Linked DNA regions of Homo sapiens: region 2 is linked to region 1. Evidence: promoter capture Hi-C in 16 types of primary human blood cells and fetal thymus (Javierre and others, 2016). All regions are on one chromosome and are shown on one strand. Each heading gives the region's core, a stretch centred on a gene start or on the middle of the fragment in contact. The rest is flanking DNA. Distances are from core to core; before and after follow the strand shown. Region 1 holds the start of GPR183 (G protein-coupled receptor 183). Region 2 has its middle 41 kb from the start of DOCK9-DT.

Evidence for each region. Contacts are between HindIII fragments. The CHiCAGO score rates a contact against its expected background, and 5 or more counts as called.
Region 2: a contact is called between a fragment that was not itself captured here and the fragment with the promoter of GPR183 in region 1, in 1 of 17 cell types (non-activated CD4 T cells). The highest score is 5.2, in non-activated CD4 T cells.

What each region holds. Positions count from the first base shown.
Region 1 is chr13:99,305,296-99,309,954 of GRCh38, reverse strand. GPR183 (G protein-coupled receptor 183) reads left to right here and starts at 2,556. Exons shown (of 2, transcript NM_004951.5): 1 at 2,556-2,615. All of the region lies in intron 4 of UBAC2 (UBA domain containing 2), which reads right to left. The HindIII fragment of the contact is 4,315 bases long and covers 1-3,088 here.
Region 2 is chr13:99,043,438-99,048,096 of GRCh38, reverse strand. It overlaps a transcript of DOCK9 not described here. Among named protein-coding and RNA genes, the nearest start is that of DOCK9-DT, 41 kb to the left of the region's middle. The HindIII fragment of the contact is 6,261 bases long and covers 1-4,659 here.

The sequences.
Region 1 (4,659 bases), core at 1,307-3,806:
TTAAGGTTGCAAATGTCCATTTCACTTCTTCTATAGAAAAGGTCACTGGATGTGGTGGCTCATACCTGTAATCCCAGCACTTTGGGAAGCCAAGGTGGGCAGATGGCTTGAGGTCAGGAGTTTGAGACCAGCCTGGGCAACATAATGAGACCTTGTCTCCACACACACACACAAAAAAATACAAAAATTAGCTGGGCGTGGTGGCATGTGCCTGTAGCCCCAGCTACTTAGGAAGCTGAGGTGGGAGGATCACTTGAGCCCAGGAGGCAGAGGTTGCAGTGAGCCAAGATCGTGCCACTGCACTCCAGCCTGGGCAACAGAGTGAGACCCTGTCTCCAAACAAACAAACAAAAAAACTGTAAAGGCCAACTCTACTTTTACAGTACAATCACAACTCAAGAAACCCTGGTAACTTTCAACAGCAATAAAAACAAGGTTTGTGAGCTCATGAAATGATCTAATATACAGCTTCAGCGGCCTCTTACAGGATAATGACCCCATCACCTCTTCTTCATCTGCCTGACTACTCTGATATCAAAAAAAAGGGGCTGGGCACGGTGGCTCACACCTGTAATCCCAGCACTTTGGGAGGCCAATGCAGGCAGATCATGAGGTCAAGAGATTGAGACCATCCTGGCCAACATGGTGAAACCTTGTCTCTACTAAAAATACAAAAATTAGCTGGGCATGGTGGCATATGCCTGTAGTCCCAGCTACTCGGGAGGCTGAGGCAGGAGAATTGCTTGAAGCCGGGAGGTGGAGGTTGCAGTGAGCCGACAGCACACCCCTGCACTCCAGCCTGGTGAGAGCGAGACTCTGTCTCAAAAAAAAAAAAGAAGGTTGGGAGGACAGATCCAGTTTGTCAGAGGAATTACTTGAACTAGCTGAGTCCTTCACTATATAAAAATGTTTTACTTAATATAACTATTTCAAAATTAACAGGCAAAACCCCACCAGAATGGTCTTTCAACAAACTGAAAAATTTATCAACAGTGTCTTCTTCAAGTACTCTGCAGCCTAAGTTTTAAATGAACTAGTTCTAGAATATGATGTCATGTTTATCCACCAAGTCATAAAATCTCTGTATTACCCCCTCATAGAATTTTTGTACTAGGAATTACCTTGGAGATCATTTAGTTCAATACCTTTATTTTATACACAGTGAGGTGGCGGCCCAAAGAATTCAGCTGACTTGCTTGATGCTCTTTCTTGTGTCTGACAATGTTCCTCCATACTCACAGCACTTTAGACGTTAGAAGAACCTAATGACATCTGTGGGAGGCAAAAGCTACTCGACTATTTTTACAGAATCCTGGAGCAGAAAGGCTTCTGAGATCACAGAGTTACAAATTCCTACCAAATGATTCAATTCTGTTTACATCATCCCTCAAAATCATCAAGTTTACTCAAGCATCTAAATAAGAAACAGCATATTCCATTTTTCAAAATAATCACAACTTTTGGGAATGACTCTCATCTTTTGATCCAAAAGCTATGTCCAGTAACTTCTTACTGACCCTCCCGCTAGTCTCTGGAGTTAGGAAGACTGACACAAGCAATGTAAACACTTTTCTATGAGAGTTTCCACAAGCATAAGGATAATGACCCTATGCCTACAAAGCATACACATCCCCAGCTTATTTAATCAGTTCTCCTAAGACCTGCTATCCAGGCCCCTCACTGCCACAGGTGTTATCTATGTCTTCGTAAAAAGCAGCACCCAGAAGTGGCTGGGAATGGCCAGATCAGTCCTGACTAAGTGTAAACATCACCTCTCCTGATCTGAGTGCTACATATCTGGTAATTTAGCCTACAAATAAACTGCATTCTGACAGACACGTTAGTTGGTTTAAACTGAGTCAACTACAACTATGAGGTGAATGGCATGAGTCTCTTTCACCCTGTGCTGAAGAGGCTGGATTTTATCTATAATGGGCCTCCCTTCAACTGTTTCCCTGTTATTCAAGTACTCACACAGCCTCTGACTCAGGCAGCCTCTCGACTGAAAACGGCGACTAATCCAGTCCACTCCACATCCTGGACTGTCACTCACCCCCACGCCACAGAAACCTGTTTCTTTCTCATAAGCTGTGGATAAGGTGGAATGTGTAAACTACTCCCTGATACCAAGTTTCCAGGTAAAAAGCACTGTCAAAGTTGACACTATTTTCCTTAAAACATTTAAAAACCCATACTTTTACATGCAAAATCAATATAAAATCATCAGTAACTTGGTCTTTTTTTTGGTTAAGGTTTATTGCTTCAGTCTCTTTCAAAGAATTTTTTGATACTTAAACCTTTACAGAAAAATTTATAAAGTTCCACAGATATCAACAATTCATAAATTCCAAGGGGCTTTTGGATAGTTTTTTTTAATCACTATAAAAAATTTCACTTCCCATTTAAAACAAAAAAAAACACAAAGTGCACACACGTACACGAGGCTAACTGCTCATTACATGCTCAGTCACAGGGTGACAGAGAAAAAAAAAGTCACCACCATAAAAGGAGGTCTGCACAGCCTCTCTTAAAACAACATGCCACAGTTAAAACTTACTTCAGTTTGGACAACTACTCACAGCTACTACACAGAGACCCGAACGAGTCACTGATATGTAAGTACAAGATCTTTTGCTTTTTCAACAAACTTTTTAAAGAAAAACTTTAAAAGCCTAAGTTTTAAGGTAAAAGGTAAAAAGGAAAACAATCTATTTAAGAACAAGCTACCATCACTTCTAACAAAAATTATATTAATAATGTAAGTTTACTCTCTCTGCTGACTGGTAGGTCTAGTTAGTTCTTATAAAGTTGACTGAAAGCGATGGGTCCACCAGAAATATCTTTGTCAAAAAATAGGGCTCACTTCATGTACTACTGTATAAACTCACAATGACAAAAGACAGTATCAAGCAAAACTATGCAAATAATGCCAATATTTCAGGATAACTTAGTATGAAGGAAAAGGAACAAAGTTATTTTAATATAGAATATTCCTATGCTATAGGAATTATTAGAAATATAAGATTATTTCTCAGGATAGAATCTCAGGGGTAGAATTCCTAGGGCAAAGGGTATATTTTCTAAAGCTTTAGATATAAAACGGTACTTTTTGGTCTACAAAAACATTTTACCAATTTACCCTCCCGCCAGCAAAGAGTACCAATCTTTGCTTTTTAAATGCTAAATACTACTAATTAGATAAGTGAAAAAAAAGTCTGTTGTGTGGTTTATACTTGTGTTTACTTAGACTAAACGTATCTTTTCTATGTGCCTGAGGGGAAAAAATCACAATGAATTCTATGCAGTGCTTTGGCAACATTTATGTCCAGGTTGGGAATGGTGGTAACAGAAACTTGGCAAAATAGAAGCTGTGAAGAGACTTCCTTTAAAGGGCAGTGAGGGTTTTATATATGTGTGTTTGTGTGTGTGTTGGGGGAGGGGGGCGTGGTATTTTGTTTTTTTGGTGTCACTCTGAGTACAATATAGTGTAATAAGAGCAAGGGCTCTGAAATCAGGATCAAATGAAATTTACAAGCTGTGTGGCCCCCCCACACACAAGTTACCTAATATCTGGCTTCAGCTGCTTTACCTGTAAAATGGGGAGTATTACTACTGCCAAGTCCTTACAACATTGCCTCTCATTATAAGTGCTAAAAAACTGTCTCCCATCATTCTTCTCCCATCTCTCTGGCCACTGACGTACCAGAGGGTGAATCCAACAGATATGTTATGGATATTTTACATAAAGACCCTGAATCAGGCTGGGTGTGGTGGCTCACTCCTGTAATCCCAGCACTTTGGGAGGCCGAGGCAGGCGGATCACCTGAGATCAGGAGTTCGAGACCAGCCTGGCCAACATGGTGAAACCCCATCTCTACTAAAAATATAAAAGTTAGCCAGGCACGGTGGCACTCACCTATAATCCCAGCTACTCAAGAGGGTGAGGCAGGAGAATCCCTTGAACCTGGGAGGCGGAGGTTGCAGTGAGCCGAGATTGCGCCACTGCACTCTAGCCTGGGCGACCATGCGAGACTCTGTCTCGATAGATAAATAAATAAATAAATAAATGGCCCTGAGTCTATGGATGATCACACATCTAACTGTGCTTACTGGTAGGACTGCACACTTCTTATATTTTAGCATGTTTTCTCTCTGCGGGTTCACTGCACTTTTTGGACATAAAACCACAAAGAATATGCTACTCCACAAAATGTTCACTCACATGTTTATGTATCGCGTTAGTGACAATGGTAATGATCCCTTGCATAAATTACTTTCATCTGGCTTCCTAGAGCTAATTAGTACCATGACCAGTCAGTTAATGGAATAAATATTAACTCAGGTTTCTATATGACTTTAATTCATTTATTTATTCTATAGATATTTACTAGATATCTATTGTAGGTTGGTTCTGTAGCATTCTATAGGATAAAATGTTGGATGAGATCAAGTCATCATCCTCAAGAAGCTTACATTTAAAAGAGCTTCGCACCTAATAAAGCCGTTTACAGGGATACTTTTCTCTCTGCTATGGTTAAGACCTGCTGGAGTTGTTAGGCAGCCCTGGACGTGGCCTGTGTAGAGGACGCGTGGTGTTCTCCAGTCTGGGGGGTTTATCACCTTCTCAAGAAGTCTGGGCATTGTATAAAATGAGATAAC
Region 2 (4,659 bases), core at 1,078-3,577, 260 kb after region 1:
TGAGAACTGTCATCGGACATCAGTGTTTGATTCGTGATTTTGCTGACATTGAGGTCCCTGGTGCTGCCCCCAAACTGGAGGCCTGCCCAGGGTGAAACTTTGTGTCAGAGCCCAGGATTTGACTCCTAGGAGCTCTGCTGTTGGGTATTATACAGGAGGGCAGGAATTGAGTTGTAAAAGGCCAGTGAAAGGGAGGGAGAACAATACATTGAGTTTGTATCCAGGGACACTTTCCTGGAAAGGTGGTTGCTTGAGGCTGATGCTTCAAGATTAGGGCCAGGCGCAGTAGCTCCTGCCTGTAATCCCAGCACTTTGGGAGGCCGAGGTGGGTGGATCGCCTGAAGTCAGGAGTTCAAGACCGGCCTGGCTAACATGGTGAAACCCCGTCTCTACTAAAAATTAAAAAAAAAATTAGCTGGGCATAGTGGTGTGCACCTGTAGTCCCAGCTACTCAGGAGGCTGAGGCAGGAGAATGGCTTGAAGGTGGGAGGCAGAGGTTACAGAGAGCCAGGATGGCACCACTGCACTCCAGCCTAGGCGACTGGGCGAGACTCCGTCTCAAAAAAAAAAAAAAAAAAAGGATTAGAACCACTGATTCTCAGAAAAAGTTTGACTTTCATTATTTTCAGACAACACCTAAGGAGTGAAAATAAATGAGACTAAGAAGATGTTCTTAGGCCCCAGAATGTTTAAAAGTAGAAAGACAATTTCCTTATTCTAACCTGGGGACCCTGATGGTAACAGACGTGCTTATGTGCTGCGATGGCAGCTGATACTCCTCAGCCTGTGGTTCTCTGCCCCATCCAGAGAGAGCCTGAATCTATACACAGAAAAGGCTGTGTTTCTGAGGAAATAAAAAATATGTACTTTTAAAATTTTCTAAATAGGCCCTACTTCTAGGGTCAGCTGGCGTGTATTTCAATTAGCACATTATCTTGGGAAACTTTACCATGAGGAAAAGTTTACTCATAGGCTTGGCCATTTTTATTTATTTGACCCCCATGAATAGTCCAACATAGCCACCAAAAATTGCACAGATGTCAGTGGCTGTTTGGCCGTGTTTTAAATAAATATTTTGTCTTTTAATCATCAGAGATAGGAGATTAAACCTGGACTCGTCCAACTTTGGCTCTCTTCACGCTCATCCTTATGGGAGAGGAAGTGTCAAGATGGGCTTTCCTTTGGAGCATAACCTAAACAGGAACCTTTTAAAAACCTATCCAAAGCTACACTTTGTACCTTAAACGCAGGCATGAAGTATGAGACATTTCTGGTGATGTCTTCAGGAGGATTAAGAGGTCAGGAGTTAGATGTAAGAATGAAAGTAAAGTAAGTGATAGATCTAGGCAGAGAAAGATGTTGACATCTGAGCTTATACTCTGAATAAAACAGGTTTCCAGGCTGTGTGTGTTTATTTTACACCCATGCACTTACACACAGTATGTGATAACACAGCAGTGATTCACAGTGGCTCTTCAAGGCCCCTCATCTGTGAGTCCTGGACTTTCCTGTCAGGTGTGCCCCCTCATAACCAGGCATGTTCTATGAGGTGTTTACTGTCGAGACAAGTCCCACAAGTTGGGCAACCCTTTAAGTGCTGTTTTCCGGAGCGCAGCTAAGGAGGTTAGCATACTGGGCGCAAAATCCTTCCTCCTTTTGAAAACCTCAAAACCAACAAACTACTTCCTCTGTTAATCTCATGGGTGAGTGGCAAAGCCCAGGCCAAGCCCTTGGTTGTGCAATGTGTTATGGCCCTGGAGTTAAGGATCCTCCTACTCAAAGCAGGAGGGCATCATTCCAGCAAAACCTGTTGGTGTGCGTCCCACCTTCCAAGTGAAGATATGCCAGGTGGGAGGTCGCTCGGCTTGTTCTGCCCCGTGCTGAGCCTGGGCTCAGTGTTGGGACATACATTTCTGCCTTTTCTGTCGTTGCTTAAGATATTTCCTGGTTGTCTTGTGAATTCTAGACACAGTGATGCTGGTTTTTTTTTTTTTTTGAGACTGAGTCTCACTCTGTCACCCAGGCTGGAGTGCAGTGGCACAATCTCAGCTTACTGTAAGCTCCGCCTCCCGGGTTCACGCCATTCTCCTGCCTCAGTCTCCTGAGTAGCTGGGACTACAGGCACGTGCCATCAAACCCGGCTAATTTTTTTTTTTTTTTGTATTTTTAGTAGAGATGGGGATTCACCGTGTTAGCCAGAATAGTCTCAATCTCCTGACCTCATGATCCGCCCGCCTCAGCCTCTCAAAGTGCTGGGATTACAGGTGTGAGCCACCGCACCCGGCTGCTGTTTTTTTTGTTTTGTTTTGTTTTGTTTTTAAAAAGATGATTAAGCTGGTGAGGCATCTCTTTTTATATATGCATTTTTTGACAAAAATTCCGTATATTTAGGGTATACAACATGATGTTTTAAAATTGGAATGGTTCAATCAAGCTAAGTAACATGCAATACTTCACATACTTAACATTTTCTGTGGTGAGAACTCAGTTCTACTCTCAGCTATTTATTTACTGTAGTCACCATGTTTATACTGTATTCCCCCTAGCTAACTGAAATTTTGTATCTTTTTACCAACATCTCTCCAAACCCCACCCCCAGCCCCTGGTAACCACCATTCTACTCTCTACTTCTGTAAGTTTGACTTTTTTAGAGTCTACATCTAAGTGAGGTCATGTAGTATTAGCCTTTCTTTGCCTGGCTTACTTCATTTAACATGATGTCCTCTATGTTCATGTTGTTGCAGACGATTTCTTTCTCTTTTGCGCCTGAATGATATTTCATTGTGTATATACGGTATACACCATATTTTATTTATCCATTTATCCACTGATGGCCACTTAGGTTGATTCCATATCTTAGCTGTTGTGAATAGTGCGGCCATGAACATGGGAGTGCAGATATCGCTTTGACACAGCGATTTCATTTTCTTTGGGCAAGTACCCGGTAGTAGGATTGCTGGATCATATGCTAGTCCTATTTTTAATCTTTTAAGGAACCCCCATACTGTTTTCCACAGTGGCTTCACTAATTTACAGTCCCACAAACAGCATGCAGGGATTCCCTTTCCACCACATCCTCTTAGTGAGACATCTCTTGAAGAAGGTCTGTCGACTTGGGTACCACTGAATGGTTTGTGGGTGAATATGTCTATGGGCTGGAATTGTGGTGGGAGTTCCCCTCTGCTCTCAGTATGGTAAAATCCTGTCCTGCTCCTGAGAAACACGGGTAGGAAGGCATGGAGGAGCTTGTGCATGTGATGGAAGAACCTGGCTGTACAGTCAGGTGACAGTCCTTTTGGTTTTTCTTTTACTTACGGCTTTAAGCACTGTATTATAGTTTGGGGAGAATGATTGCTCTTGTCTTCAACACATTGTTAATAAGGGAGCCCAAAGTTTGTGTCTTTTAAGTTAGCTCCGTAGCTTTTTGTTCTAAACTTTTGTATTTCCAAATTCATTTATTTTTGGTGGCAAAATTTGCACATTTTTAAAGTGTTAGTGAGTAGTCTGTATCACTTTGAAATAAGAGCTAGGAAGCGATCGTGGTATTCATACATAATAGTCTGGTGTTCCTTTCTGGTTGCCATGGTGTGGTGGTCCTGATCAGTGTGGGTCTGACTGGGGTGCTCAGCCAGGTGGCAGACATCTGTGGTCTCTAGAAGCTGAAATACTTCAGCTATAGGAAGCATCTGCTGCTTCAAGAACTTCACAATAAGCATTTATTGATGTCCTACTGTATACCAGGCATCCTGCTGGTTGCTGAGGGAACAAACATGAATAAGACCCACTGCCTGCAGTGTTCTTGATTCAGTGATTCCACCAGAATCAATTACAGGAGGCTGGCTGGTGGCTTCACTCAATGTCTGTGTTTAAGATTAATTTGCTTAATAAAACTCAGGGCAGTGAATACACAGGGTTGGCCCTGGCTTTCCTGTTACGAGCATTCAACAGTGTCGCGTGAGCAGTTGAACATGCCTTGTAAACCATGGTTGAGTCTCCCTGAGCTATTGTTAGCAGATAACTTTAGAGCAGAGCTAATCTGTCATATAAATAAGAATCACAATTGGGTTACATGGTAATTAAATATAAATGGTAAGTGAGTGAGTCACATTTATTCATTCATTCAGCAAACTTTTATTAGAGGCCTCTGGTGCCAGGCAGTGTATGAGGTGCTCTTCTGAGGCTGGTGTGGAGGGATGGTCACACCAGTATTGTCCTGCCTACAGTAGTGGCATATGTAGGGCAGTGGGCGGGGACAAGCAAACACTGAAGCTGGCCGTCCCATCATGGAGGGCCTCAAGGAGGGGGCAGGCTGATTGTGGAAAGGATGTGGGTAAGATGAGGCAGGGTAAAGGAGTAAGTTCTCCTTCATTATTAGCAATTACTTTAGACCCCATGTTCCTTCTGGGATGTCCTCAGCTCCCTTCCCTTACCCCGGTGGACAAGAAAATAGATAGCCTTGGCAGCTGCACTTTTATGTGTCTTGGGTCCTGTTTGTGGACCTGTTTGGCAGCCTCCCTCTCTCCCCGACGTACCTGCAAGTGTCTGAGTCCTCTGCTCCTGGGTTCTGCATGGCAACTGATGGAAAGCTAGAGGGGCTGACTTCCCAGGATATGAGACCGTAGAGAGACAGATGGGCTGCCCCTTCTCAGGGAGAAGAGA